3 separate regions of the Homo sapiens genome follow, and all the other regions are linked to region 3. Evidence: promoter capture Hi-C in 16 types of primary human blood cells and fetal thymus (Javierre and others, 2016). All regions are on one chromosome and are shown on one strand. The core of a region is centred on a gene start or on the middle of the fragment in contact, and the rest is flanking DNA. Distances in the headings are between cores, read along the strand shown.

What was found. Contacts are between HindIII fragments. The CHiCAGO score rates a contact against its expected background, and 5 or more counts as called.
Region 1: a fragment that was not itself captured here is called in contact with the fragment with the promoter of SPIN1 in region 3 in 1 of 17 cell types (total CD8 T cells); the score reaches 5.8 in total CD8 T cells.
Region 2: a fragment that was not itself captured here is called in contact with the fragment with the promoter of SPIN1 in region 3 in 1 of 17 cell types (M2 macrophages); the score reaches 5.8 in M2 macrophages.

What each region holds. Positions count from the first base shown.
Region 1 is chr9:88,209,971-88,215,017 of GRCh38, forward strand. No RefSeq gene overlaps it. Among named protein-coding and RNA genes, the nearest start is that of SPATA31C2, 74 kb to the left of the region's middle. The HindIII fragment of the contact is 629 bases long and covers 2,746-3,374 here.
Region 2 is chr9:88,161,893-88,166,881 of GRCh38, forward strand. No RefSeq gene overlaps it. Among named protein-coding and RNA genes, the nearest start is that of SPATA31C2, 26 kb to the left of the region's middle. The HindIII fragment of the contact is 5,131 bases long and covers 1-4,582 here.
Region 3 is chr9:88,385,034-88,389,752 of GRCh38, forward strand. SPIN1 (spindlin 1) reads left to right here and starts at 3,411. Exons shown (of 6, transcript NM_006717.3): 1 at 3,411-3,505. LOC124902204 (a long non-coding RNA gene) reads right to left here and starts at 4,166. Exons shown (of 2, transcript XR_007061652.1): 1 at 4,079-4,166; 2 at 1-3,084. RefSeq lists an enhancer at 2,227-3,086 and a silencer at 3,164-4,063. The HindIII fragment of the contact is 9,781 bases long and covers 1-4,719 here.

The DNA.
Region 1 (5,047 bases), core at 1,810-4,309, 180 kb before region 3:
CCAGCACTATTTATTAAGTAGGGAATCCTTTCCCCATTTCTTGTTTTTGTCAGGTTTGTCAAAGATCAGATGGTTGTAGATGTGTGGCATTATTTCTGAGGGCTCTGTTCTGTTCCATTGGTCTATATCTTTGTTTCAGTACCAGTACCATACTGTTTTGGTTACTGTAGCCTTGTAGTATAGTTTCAAGTCAGGTAGCATGAAGCCTCCAGCTTTGTTCTTTTGGCTTAGGATTGACTTGGCAATGTGAGCTCTTTTTTGGTTCCATATGAAATTTAAGGGAGTTTTTTCCAATTCTGTGAAGAAAGTCATTGGTAGCTTGATGGGGATGGCAATGAATCTATAAATTACCTTGGTCAGTATGGCCATTTTCACTATATTGATTCTTCTTATCCATGAGCATGGAATGTTCTTCCATTTGCTTGTGTCCTCTTTTATCTGATGAACATTGATGCAAAAATCCTCAATAAAATACTGGCAAACTGAATCCAGCAGCACATCTAAAAGATTATCCACCATGACCAAGTAGGCTTCATCCATGGGATGCAAGGCTGGTTCAACATATGCAAATCAATAAACGTAATCCAGCATATAAACAGAACCAAAGACAAAAACCACATGGTTATCTCAATACATGCAGAAAAGGCCTTTGACAAAATTCAACAGCCCTTCATGCTAAAAACTCTCAATAAATTAGGTATTGATGGGACGTATCTCAAAATAATAAGAGCTATTTATGACAAACCCACAGCCAATATCATACTGAATGGGCAAAAACTGGAAGCATTCCCTTTGAAAACTGGGACAAGACAGGGATGCCCTCTTTCACCACTCCCATTCAACATAGTGTTGGAAGTTCTGGCCAGGGCAATCAGGCAGGAAAAAGAAATAAAGGGTATTCAGTTAGGAAAAGAGGAAGTCAAATTGTCTCTGTTTGCAGATGACATGATTGTATATTTAGAAAACCCCATTGTCTCAGCCCAAAATCTCCTTAAGCTGATAAGCAACTTCAGCAAAGTCTCAGGATACAAAATCAATGTGCAAAAATCACAAGCATTCTTATACACCAATAACATACAAACAGAGAGCCAAATCATGAGTGAACTCCCATTCAGAACTGCTTCAAAGAGAATAAAATACCTAGGAATCCAACCTACAAGGGATGTGAAAGAGCTCTTCATGATGTGCTTTGATGAACAGGAGTTCTTGATTTTAATGTCGTCAAATATATGGATCTAGTGTGACTTTTCTGATATTATATTTTAAATTTGTGATTATCAGCGCCTTTGTTATTGTTTATTTCTAAGGTTTTTGTTTTGTTTCTGAGGATATTAATTATTTTTTAAGGTTTTAAAGAATTAGTTGACCAACTTCAGAAGGGCCAACTTCCAATAAAGAGAGTTTCTGAGAGTGAACTGAAAAAATGGTAGCAGGAGGAATCAAAAAATAATTCAAGAAGATATATCATAACTGAAGAATTTGACTTGCCAAATGAAAAGGATCCACCAAATGGGGAGCACATTAAATGAGATTTGTCCCCCATCAAACACATCATTAGTGACCTTCAGAATCCTGGGAACGGAAAGATGACTTTCCAAGTTTCCTTAGAGGAAAAGCAGGTCAAATGCAAAGAGTAGGAATCAGAATGGCTTTGAAATTCTCAACAGCAACAGTAGAAGCTAAAAAACAATGGAGGATTATCTTCAACATTCGGATTGCCTATAGATTCTTCAATACCCAGACAAAGTATGAATTAAATGTGAAGATGGAATAAAGACATATTTAGACATGAAGAAGTTGCAAAATTTACTTTCTATTCTATTGTCTCTGGAAGCTGAGAGGATGTTGTTGATCAAAATGAGGAAATAAAACAACAAAGAACATGATTAGCATTCAGAAAACAGTGGGTTCCAAACAAAGGAGAGATGAAGGGAGTCCTCAGGACAGGACAGGAGAAAGAGTCCAGGATGCCAGCCACAAGCAGGCTTGGAGAACAGACAGCCCAGAACTCTAGAATATTTTTTCAAGAAGACAATAATAGTGCTAATGTGTTTGAACACATTGAGAGAAGCTTTTCATGACTGAAGTAGAACTTGAAATGCGTAAGTGATAAATATATGGAAAAATAAGCAACCAACAAAAGATTATTATTAACTCAAGAACAAACATAAATTTGTTAGAAACTGTAGGGTAGTGGCCACACCTACAGAATACAGATCCAGAATGCCTGGGGTTCAAATTCTGGTTTTGCCACTTAACGGCTGAATTACCTTGGGCAAATCACTTCATCTCCATGGTCCTCATATATAAAATCAGGATTATTATAACAGTCTTGTGAAAGTTTTGTGAAAATTAAAGTCCTTGGATCTTTTTCTGGCCCAGAGAAAGCCCCATGTAAATGTTAACGGTCTTTATTTTTTATTTTATTTATTTTTTTAGAGACTGGGTCTGGCTGTGTTGCCCAGGATGGAGTGCAGTGGTGCGAGCTCAGCTCACTGCAGCCCTGACCTCCCGGGCTCAGGCAATTCTCCTGCTTCAGCCTCCTGAGTAGCTAGGACTACAGGTGTGCACTGCCACACTCAGCTGATTTTTTTTTTTTTTTTTTGTAGTAACAAGGTCTTGCTGTGTTGCCCAGGTTGTATTAACTATTGTGGTTGTCACGACCACTACCACCGTCACCATCATCATTGTATATGGTCCATGGTTCAGCTGGAAAGGTGCAACTAATAAAAATGCTGACTACTAAGCTTAAGAAAAAAATGTCTATTTAATTAGATTGGGAGAAAGTGAAGACAGAAATTGCTTGTCAGGTTAGGAAAGGGAAGGAGGGAAGGAGATAAATCATCTTCCACATTGGGAAGTCTTAGAGAAATTTTTAATCTGCAAAACCAAATAAGTAACAATATAGGCATTTTTGTTGAAGACATGGAGGAAGATATCAAAAGGTTAGCTAAGAAAGTTTACAAGAGTTGCTCTGTGGGAGTGGGAAATGGGTGAATAGACACAGGGAACTTATTCTTTGTAACAATCTTCGTCAATTAGATGTATAGATATTTTAATTCTAAAATTAAAACAACGTTTTTCTTTGAAAAAGAAATCGCCATGTCAAGTTGTTTCACTGGATAATTCTGTTTAAGGAAGAATCAATGCTAACAATAAGCAATTTTTTCCAGATCATATAAGAAGAGAAAATATTTCCCTTCTCATTGTATGGGACCAGTATCACACTAATACCAAAACCAGACAAAGAATTACAAAAAAAGAAACTTACAGATCAATATCCTTCATGCATGTAGACACAAAAACCTTTAAACAAGTATTAACAAATAGGCTTCAGTGATTTTTAAGAAGAATTACACACCATAACTAAATGAAGCTTATTCCAGAAATGCAAGGTTGGTTCAATATTAAAAAATCAGTCAATGTAATCCACCACATTAACAGAATAAAATTCACATGATGTTATCAATTGATGCAGTAAAGTATTTGACAAAATTTGTTTATTTAAATAAATTTTATTGTGTACAAACATGATGTTATAAGATACATATATAAGAAAATGGTTACTATAGTGAAACAAATTAACATCTCCATCATCTCATTTAGTTATCCATAATTCCTCCTGTGGCAAAAACAGCTATAATCTACCCATTAAGGAAAAATCCTGAATATGATACCCTATTATTCACTGTAGTCTTCATGCTGTTCATTAGACCTTTCCACTTGTTCATTCTACATATTTATTTGCTACTTTGTATCTTTTGACCTAAACCTCTCCATTTCCTCCCCAACTCCAACCTTGGTAGCCACTGTTTTATTCTCTGTCTCTATATACTTGATCTCTTTTTTTCTAGAGACCCCACATAAGTGAGATCATGCAATATTTTTCTTTCTGTGTCTAGCTTATTTCACTTAGTATAATATGTTCCAAGTCCACCTATGTTGTGGCAAATGGCAGATCTTCCTTTTTGTTGTTGTTTTTGTTTTGTTTTTAGACAGGGTTTTGTTCTGTCACCCAGGCTAGAGTACAGTGGTGTGATCTTCACTTACTGCAGCCTCGAACTCCTGGGGTCAAGCAATTCTCCTGCCTCAGTCTCCCTAGTAGATGGGACTACAGGCATACACCACCATGCCCAGCTAATTTTTATTTTTTTTTATAGATATGGGGCTCTCATATATTTTTTATAGATATGTTGCCCAACCTGGTCTTGAACTCCTGGCTTCAGGCTATTCTCACATCTTGGCTTCCCAGACTGCTGGGATTACAGGTGTGAGCCACTACACCCGGCCAAGATCTCCTTTTTTTTTTTTTTTTTTTTTTTTTTGAGACGGAGTGTTGCTCTGTTGCCCAGGCTGGAGTGCAGAGGTGCCATCTTGGCTCACTGCAAGCTCTGCCTCTCGGGTTCAAGTCATTCTCCTGCCTCAGCCTCTCGAGTAGCTGGGACTACAGGTGCCCACCACCATGCCCGGCTAATTTTTTGTACTTTTAGTAGAGACAGGGTTTCACTGTGTTAGCCAGGATGGTCTCGATCTCCTGACCTCGTGATCCACCTGCCTCGGCCTCCCCAAAGTGCCGGGATTACAGGCATGAGCCACTGCACCCAGCCCAAGATCTCCCTTTTTAAAGGCTAAATAATATTCCATTGTCTATTTATGCCATAGTTTATCCATTCATCCATTAATAGACACCTAGGTTGTTTTCATACGTTGGCCATTGCGAAAAATGCTGCAACATGGGTGTGCAGATATCCTTACCAGGTAGAGATTTCATTTCCTTTGGATATATGCCTAGAAGAGGGATTACTAGGCTGCATTTGACAAAACTTAATACCTTTCATGATTTTAAAAAAATTCTGAGAAAACTAGGAATAAAGGTGAACTCCCTCAACCTGATTAAAAAAAAAAATTCCTGCAAAACATAACAGTGAAAGACCGAATGCTCTCCTCGTGAAATCAGGAGCAAACACAGCAAAGGTCCCCACCCTCACTACTACTATTCAACTTAGTCCTGGAAGCTCTAACCCGTGCAAAAAGCAACAGAAGGAAA
Region 2 (4,989 bases), core at 767-3,266, 220 kb before region 3:
GGAGGAGATATCGGAATCAAGTCTTATTATTTTTCTCTTTCTGAGTCACTTGATCTTTTTTAGAAGATGCCCAAATTATCTTCTCTTTATTTTTGAAGTCTAATTGCTTTACCAGGGTATGGCTGAGTGATGACTTTTCTATATCATTTTCCTCCATAACATGGTGCACTTTTTAAATCTGCAGATTTGATTCTTCTCTCATTTCAAAAAAATTATTTTGAATCATCATCCTAAATACTTACATGTTACATTTGTTTAGTCCTCTTCTATAGGCACATAAATCCATTTTTTTAAACAAATACACTTATAAGATTTACTGTTATCACAAGGTCACATTCCTGTAGAATATAGAAATATGTGTAGCTTTCAGTTTACTGTCTGCATTTTTTGTTTTTAAAGAGAAGAGGTCTTGCTCTGTCACCCAGCCTGGAGAGCAGTAGTGTGATCATAGCTCGCTACAGTCTCTTAACTCCTGGGCTCAAGCAGTCCTCCCATCTCAGCCTCCTGAGTAGCTGGAACTATAGGGGCATAACACCATGCTCAGCTAATATTTTTTAATTAAAAAAAAAATTTGTAGAGATGAAGTCTCATTTTGTTGCCCAGGCTGGTCTCAAGCTCCTGGCTTCAAGCAATTCTTCTGCCTTGACCTCCCAAGGTGCTGGGATTACAGGTGTGACACAATACACCAAGCCAAGTCTGTGTTTTTCAAATTGCAGCCTGCAACTCATGATGGGGTCATGAAATCTATTTAGTGGATTGTAATCTGCTGGATTGGTTTCCTACTGTTGCATAACAAATTATGACAAAGTGAGCAGCTTATAACAACACATATTTATCATCTCACAGTTTCTGTAGGTCAGGAATCTGCAAACAGCTTTGCTGGGTCTTTTGTTCAGGGTTTCATAGGGCTGCAATCAAGATGCCATCTGGGCTCCATTCTTATCTGGAGGCTCAACTGGGGAAGAATCCACTTCTAAGCTCATTCAGGCCTTTGACAGAATTTATTTCCTTGTGGCTGTATAGCTGAGGACTCCTGCCTTTTGTTGGTTGTTGGTGGGAGCCCACCCTTGGTCCTAGAGGCTGCCCACAGTTGCTGGAGGCCATCCATAGCTCCTTACCACATGGGCTTCCTCAACGTGGCACTCCATTTACTGAGCCAGCAAGGATGCTCTCTTACTCCAGTCTGATGACATAATATAGTCCTGGGAGTGGCACATGATCACCTTTGTCATGTCCTATTAACCCATAGGAGCATAAGTCACAGGTCCTGCCCAGAGTTGAGGGGAGGGGAGTATCCAAAGGTGTCAACACCAGCAGGTACAGTTCACTGGGGATCATCTTAGGGTCTTATCACCACATCTATATTTAGAAAATCGAATAGGATTATATAGAAGATACCAGAATGTATCACATGTAATAGGAGTATGTACTTCTAAATAAAAATTGTATTTAGTAATGTAAATTGTGTGTGTGTGTGTGTGTGTGTGTGTGTGATGAAAATGTATTTCTTACCAATGGTCTAGAGCAAAACAGTCTGAAAGCCCCTGACCTGGGAGGTTTTCTTGCAAACACTGAAGATAAGACTGCTTTTGAATTGTACATGCCCTGGTGCTGCCTGGCTTGCTGTCTCTGTTGAGTGTGCTTTCATGGCAACCAAGACGCGAACATTCTCCAGCCTGCTCTACTGTATTTCTGCTGGTAGTTGCAGTAGCCATCACAGTTCTTGAATTCTCAAAAGACTTAAATCAATGTCATATTACTTCCTCTAAAGTTTTCTCACCAGCTCCTCCCGTGATCTCCCATGCCATGCTGGATCTGCACACTGTAGGGAGTGCCTTCTCACTTGTGCCTTTTCCCTGCTCCCCAGCTGTGTACAAGGTCTGGTCCTGTTGTGTGCTCAGGTTTACGAGTTTCCCCTGCCCTTGGCAGCCCTGCTTCGAGCATATTGAAGTTGGGCATTAGAGATGTTCTCTTATTAACACCAAGATTGCCATTTCTGTTCTTAGTCTCCTTGTCATTTTCTTATGGTTTAAGAGAAAAGAGGGGTCTGAGAAGTCCTTACTTTGCCATATTTAAGTCCTGCTCACCTGAGGCAGCTCTGAGGCTTTGAAACAGGCCCCACTATCCTCCCACTGCCTCTGAAGCCTCCCTGAGGCCACTCCCACAGGCAGTGAGGCCTGTATATGCCACATCCTCAATGTCTTCCCTGCCTTCTTGGATGGTGGCCACTTCAGGATAGGGAGCTCAGCTGGGAATGGGCACAACCTTGACTGCCCTACCAAGACTCCTATTTCTTCTGCAATTTGGCTACATTTTGTGTCAGAGATGTTTATTGCTGTGGGATTGAGCCCATGGGTTTTGGACTCAGTTTCCTGTGGCCTGCCACGGGGCGCCTTCGTTTCCACCTGAGTTGGCCTTTATGGCTCAGTCCCTCCAGGGCTGGGGCTGACATTTCACCTCCTTCCTGAGATCTATCCTCCTCCTCCCCCTCCACCATCTCTCCTACTTTTGGAGATTTTTGTTTGTTTTGTTTTTGAGACAGGGTCTTGCTCTGTCACCCAGGTGACAGTGCAGTGGTGTGATCATAGCTCACTGCAGCCTCGACCTCCTGGCCTTAAGCAATCTTCCTGCCTCAGCCTCCCAAGTAGCTGGGACTACAGGCGTGTGTCACCACACCTGGCTAATTTTTTAATTTTTTGTAGAGATGGGGGTCTCACTGTGTTGCCCAGGCTGATCTCAAACTCCTAGGCTCAAGTGATCTTCTAGCCTCAGCCTTCCAAAGTGTTGAGATTACAGATGTGATTTTTGTTCTCATTTTTCTTCCCTTCTGTTAGGTTTCTATCTATTCAGGAGAATTATTAGATCTTTGTGATTTTAATAATTTTGCCTTTATTTTCCCCCCACCTTGAAGAAACGAAAGTGGTGAGTTCAGAAGATCCCAATTACCTCTCCCTATACCTGTCCCTGCAGTCAGAGTGAAGGGTGTCTCCTTTCTAAGGTTTTCTTTGTATCTTCCCTCGTCTCCCTCCCTTTCTCAATAACGTGTGTTGGCAAGAATCAATGTCATTACTTCCTCTAAAGTTTTAAATATCAGTGAAAATTCTCAAGATTTTGTTCACCCACTTCTTTCCCCTTATTTGGGGGAGTGTTCTGAGGCTAGATACTTCTGCAAACCAAGTCAGGCTGTTCTGCTTCTTTCTTTCTGTGAGCACCACTCTGCAGAGGTCATGGCCATAAAGTCTCCTTTCTCATCATTGGCTGAGGAATGAGAGCTCATGTGTGTGCACATGCGTGTGTGTGCTTCTTGTTTCTTTTCTCTGTTGTTCATTTTGTCAGATGTTGTAGAGATAACCCTACAACCATCTCTCAGCCTTCTTTTTCTGGAAGTTGTAGATGTGATTTTCTAGATTATATATATATATATATTTATATATATTTTTATATATTTATATATATATAATATATATATTGTTTTGAGACAGAGTTTCACTCTTGTCACCCAGGCTGGAGTGCAAAGGCACGATCTGGGCTCACTGCAACCTCCGACTCCTGGGTTCAAGTGATTATCCTGCCTCAACCTCCTGAGTAGCTGGGATTACAGGCACACGCCACCATGCCCAGCTAATTTTTGTATTTTTAGTAGAGATGAGGTTTCACCATGTTGGCCAGGCTGGTCTTGAACTCCTGACCTCAGGTGATCCACCTGCCTCGGCCTCCCAAAGTACTGGGATTACAGGCATAAGCCACCACACCCAGCCAATAGTATAATATTTTTAAGGAGTTATTTTCTTTTCTAAAAGTGCCACAGTCCCATCCTTGCCTGTGGAAGTGTCTCAGCACACCACCACATGCATAACCTAAAACTAGCTATGCCCTGGAAGACTCTCTCTTTCATGCCCAAGTTGAAAACAGTGCAACACTAGGTGTGATGCAGTCTTTCTTGATTTCTTCTCCTTTGGCTGTCTCTCCCATCATCTGTGCTTCAGCGCTTACCATTTTCCTAAAAGGAAAGTGGAAAAGCTCAGTTATGCAAATAAATGCAGCACAGACTGATGCTACAGTCAAATTCAGTTAGCATTACTTCAGGGGAACAAAATCAGTTTTAGGTAACAAACAAACAAAACTTCCAGGAAGAGAATGAGCTAGTTAACAAACAAGCAAATAAATTGTTTGTGGCACAATAACTTTAATCTTGTGAGCACCTGCCTCCACATTTTGCTGTCCAAATAAAGTCAGATTTGATTTGCTTCTTGAGGTGACCTAGCTGTTCATTTTAAACATCTCAATGTAGTGGCCATCAGGAACAGCTGCAGCTTTGCTGGTGGGTCTTAGCAAGAAAGGGCCTTAATGCTCACAAACCCACCATTTCAAGAAAGAAAAAGATAAAACACAAACAAAACCACAGCTGTAAGAGAGCTACATTTGTGGAATGATAAGGAAACAGCTTTTCTGGAACTTAGCCACTGCAGGACTCTGAGGGATGAGGTGAACAAGCTGAACAGGAATCCAATGTTTTCCCGGGTGACAAGTGTGTGAGGTTGCTATAGGCAAGGAGATTGCATGAGTTCCAATGATTAAGCTAAGCTTTCATTTCGATTTGTGCAAAATGAGTAAAAATTAATAAGCACAGGGTGTTCTCATGAAGCTGACGTTGAAACATAAAAGTAGGTGTGCTGCATACTTCACACCACAGCAAACCCTCCCTTTTTGAGTTATTAGGTTTTGGGGACATGGGGTGATGCTCTGAGACACTCAGTGATTGCTTTCAGAAACCAGATTCTAATGAGTATTTTTACTAGTATCAAGTCATTATTCATTCTGCAAATATTTTTGCCATATAATAAATAAGTCACTGTTCAAGTGATAGATAACTATGCAGATGACAGGACACCATATGGTGGTTACAAAACAGAATTTAAAATCTTAAAGGACAAAACACTCATATTCATTTGCAGCAATTAATTAGGGGACGGATGGAGACCATCTGCT
Region 3 (4,719 bases), core at 2,161-4,660:
ACTAACATCCTAAGAACTAGGGCATTCTTGTAAATAGCCACTGTCACACTGAAAAATCTAATGATGATACAATAATACTGTCTAATATATAGTCCATATATAACTACAAAGTTCCCCAGTTGTCCCTCAAATCTCTCTCACAGCTTTTTTGCCTTCAATGCAGTGCTGCATCAGGGGTCACTTAATGGACCAACCCAGTTGTGTTATCTGTCTGGACCAATTCCCTAGCTTGACTTTTTTTAGAGTGTAGTGCAGGGAAATTGTTTTGCTGAATGTCTTCCAACCTGGATTTTTCTTATTTTTTTTTCCAACTTTGATTAGATTCACTTAAACATTTTTGGCAGCTATACATGGGTAATATAAAAACCCATTTGTGACATTCTAATGAGCTAATTAGCAAGGCCTTAGATGCAGCTGAGATATGTACCACTCTAGAGTGTGACCTTTACTGATATAGGGCTGGGTGACATTACTGGACTGTGCATTCTTTTATTTTTAATTTTTTTTTTTTGAGATGGAGTCTCACTCTTGTTGTCCAGGCTGGAGTGCAGTGGTGCAATCTCGGCTCACTGTAACCCCTGCCTCCTGGGTTCAAGCGATTCTCCTGCCTCAGCCTCCTAAATAGCTCGGATTACTGGTGCCTGCCACCACGGCTGGCTAATTTTTATATTTTTAGTAGAAATGGGGTTTCACCACGTTGGCCAGGCTGGTCTAGAACTCCTGACCTCAAGTGATCTGCCTGCCTCGGCCTCCCAAAGTGCTGGGATTACAGGCGTGAGCCATTGCAGCTGGCCGGCCTTTGTTTCATTTTAAAAAATTTTATTTATTTATTGTACAGTTGGGGTCTTGCTATGTTGCCCAGGCTGGTCCTGAACTCCTGGGCTCAAGCCATCCTACCACCTTGGCCTCCCAAAGTGCCGGTATTACAGGCATGAGCCACAATCCTGTGTATTTTTTTTTGAGATGGAGTTTGACTCCGTCACCCAGGCTGGAGTGCAGTGGCACAGTCTCGACTCACTGCAAACCCTGCCTCCTGGGTTCAAGCGATTCTCCTGCCTCAGTCTCTGGAGCAGCTGGGATTACAGGCGTGCACCACCACGCCTCGCTAATTTTTGTATTTTTAGCAGAGATGGGGTTTCACTGTGTTGGCCAGGCTGGTCTCAAACTCCTGACCTCAAGTGATCCACTTGCCTCGGCCTCCCAAAGTGCTGGGATTACAGGTGAGAGCCACTGTTCTTGGCCTTTTTAAAATTTTTTAAAATTTTATTTATTTTAGAGTTGGGGTCTTGCTATGTTGCCCAGGCTGGTCTCAAACTCCTGGGCTCAAGCCATCCTCCAGCCTCAGCCTCCCAAAGTGTTGGGATTACAGGTGTAAACCACAGTCCTGTGTATTCTCAATAGCTCCCAATGAGATCATCACCAGTGGCAAATTTTAAATCAGGGGTTGGGGATGGAGATGAAGGTGGGGCCACATATTTGACTTTGAAGACGTTTTCCGTGAATTTTGGAGGAGTGTGTGTGCTACTGGCATCTAGTGGGTGGAGGCCAGGGATGCTGTCAAACATCCTACAAAGCATGGAACAGACCCCACATGAAAGGATTATCCCATCCCAAAAGCCAACACTGCTGAGGTGGAGAAACCCAGGGATCTCGCCAATGAGATGAAATCTTCCAACCAGCAGACTTCTTGGCACCTACCTTCTTCCCATCCCTCTTTGTTTCGGAGATGACCCCACTGCAAGACATTAAACAGGCCAGGCGCGGTGGCTCACGCCTGTAATCCTAGCACTTCAGGAGGCCGAGGCCAGCGGATTGCTGGAGGCCAGGAGTTTGAGACCGGCCTGGCCAACATGGCGAAACCCCGTCTCTACTAAAAATATTTTTAAAAATTAGCTGGACATGGTGGTGCGCGCCTGTAATCCCAGCTACTCGGGAGGCTGAAATGTGAGGATTGCTTGAACCCAGGAAGCGGAGGTTGCAGTGGGCCGAGATCATGCCACTGCACTGCAGCCTGGGGAACAGAGTGAGACTCCGTCTAAAAAAACAAAAAAGACATTAAACACACAAATGAAAGTGAGTAATTTCTCAACACTTGGTAACTTGTAAGTACAGCGATACACTTTTATATCTCAGTTTTGAAATTAGCTCTCTAGTTGGCCTGTGAACGTCCCATGCCTGCCAAGTGTGTCATCTGAGACAAGCACTTCAATTTGTTTGAGCAGGCATCTATCAATCTTATTTGTTAGAAAAGGTGCCAGTGAAACCCCAAAGAGTATTGCTAACTAATAACTGTGCTGCAGTTTAGAGTGTTCAAGGTGCTTTCCAGTAACATGTTCTGGAATTTGATCTGACAACGCTTTGGGAGGCGGTTTATTACGATGAGGCTGCGCTGTCGCACTCGAGGAACCAGGTCAGTGACCTGCTCCAGGACACGGGACTGGCGGGGAGGGGAGAGCGCCTGGACTCAGCCTCCAAGTCTCGCACTCGACTCTGCAGGAGTAAAAACTATTCTTGATCCTACCTCTCTCCCTTCTGCAAACAAGCAACAAAATGCTGAAAAGGCATCTTAACTGAAACGGAAGTCAAATGAATTCGCGTGCGATCATGGGAATTTTTGGCTCCTAACCTTGCGAGTAGAGCTGGGTGAGTTCCATTTGTGGTGGGGGAGTGGAAACAGGTTTCTGGGCTTGCAGAAGCCACATCCCGTCCCCACACAACCTAGGACAGGCCAGGTACTTGTAGGTGAGGCTCCGGGGCTCCAGCTAACCTGAGCTACCTGGGCTGGGCTTTGTGCGGGGAGGCAGCAAGCGGGGTGAGCCGGCGACGACGCCGGCCTCTACGCAGTGCGGTGGTGAAGACGTCTCTTCCAGGGAGTCACAGGAAGCAAATCCATCCTTTTAAAGGGCTCGCGTCCCGCGGCCCTGAACCGGCGCGCTGGAGCAGTAATGCGACGTTCTCCGAGGTTCAAGGCTCACGGCCCAGCCCTGTGATCCAGTTTCCTCAGTCTTCGCGGTGTGCACCACTCAGGACGACTTGCGGCTTACGTCCAGGACAAAGGGGGCTTGTCCTTTCTTCAACGTCCTACTGCGCAAAAACGAAGCCCTTCTCAGGCTGCCTGCCTTCCAGGAAAAGCTGCGCCCCCTCAGGAACCTGTGCCCCGCGCGCCTGCCGCCGCCCATTCCCGGCGCGCACCTGGCAGTCCCGGGCTCGAGCCCCGCCCTGCCGCCAGCCAGGTGAGAGGGGCCAGGCCCCGCCCTCGCCGGCCCCGCCCCGCCCCACTGCGCCTGCGCAGTCGGCCGTCGGCGCCAGGCGCCGGGGCGGCGCGGCCGTCGCAGTTCGGCGGGCGCAGTGCGCGTGCGCCCTGACTGTTGGGGGGCGGGCGGCGTCCGCGGCGAGGGAGCGGGGGCGGGGAGGCGCCGTCTGGCTCAGGCTGGGGCCGGCGGGAGCGCGAACGAGCGACGGCGGAACCCGTGGGCCTGTGGACTGCAGCCTCGGCGGTCAGCAGGTGAGGCCCGCGCAGGGCGGGCGTGGGTCGTGAGGGAGTGCGGGCTGCGGGCGGGCCAGCGGTGCGGCGGTCTGCCCGGGGGCGCAGGTGAGCGCGGCCCGCGCGGGGCCCGGCGGAGCATTGTCCAGCGGGCGGCGCCCGCATAGCGCCCCCTGCCGGCTGGGCCGCGGCGGGGACCCGGGCTGGGCGGGCCTGGGCCTCGGGGCGGGCGCGCGCTCCTTTGTTCGCCGGCCCCTACTCCTCCGTGCCCCCATCCCCGCCGCCCCCCGCCAACATGGCCGCCACCCTCTCGTCCCCAGTTCCCCGGCCGCCGCCGGCCCCTTAGCGCGCGCTTTGTTTGGAGCCGGGCGGGGAGGCCGGCGGGCAGGGGGCGGCGGCGCTGCGCAGTCGGGCGCGGGGAGGGGGCGCTGCGCCAGAATGCAGGCGGGGAGGGGGAACGTTGCATAATCCCGGGCCGGCGACGGGGGCGGGGCGGGGGGAGGGGCGGGACCCCGGCGCGACGGGTCGGGTCACCCCGGGGACGCGGGCCTGCCCTGGGGCCACCCCTCCCAGGCCCGGGGGATGGCCGCGGACCTTGTAAGTTGCAGGCTCCGCGGTTCGCGGCGCCGGAACGCCCACCGGCCAGTCCTCGCGCCCGCGCAGCCCCTTTCCTGATGCGCCGTCTCTTCGCCGCCCTCCGTGGGGGCGCGGCGAACGGGTTGCGTGCTCTGGAGAGAGACAGGCACTTTTCCTCTCCATCGTGAGTGACCTTGGGTGTATTCGTCAAGGAATGTGTTGAAACGAATTGTGCGATGCGGGAACTGCGCAGCGCCTCGGGTTTGGCTTTCTCGAGCATTTTATTGCATTGATTGTGCGTTCTCGATTTTACAGAGGTTCGTTTTGAGTAATGGCTTCAGTAATGTCATCGTATACGCATTTCAAAGTTTGTTTATGGAATTGTTTTTACATTTATTCTCTTTTTACTTATAATTTTTGAATCAGATTTTGTGTTTTGGAGAGATTTTCCGTACGTGGTGGAAGTGTTTTCACTCATGGTAAATATGGATTGTTTGGCAATTTTATCACGTTAATCACAAAACAATACCAGGAACATTTAAATGTCTTAAAGGATTTCACTCTACATGACTTGTGCCAGAGACGACACACGTACCAAAACGCGATTACCTGTCTTAACTTTTTTTCTATTGGAATTTTCTGGAAGGAATTCCATGCAA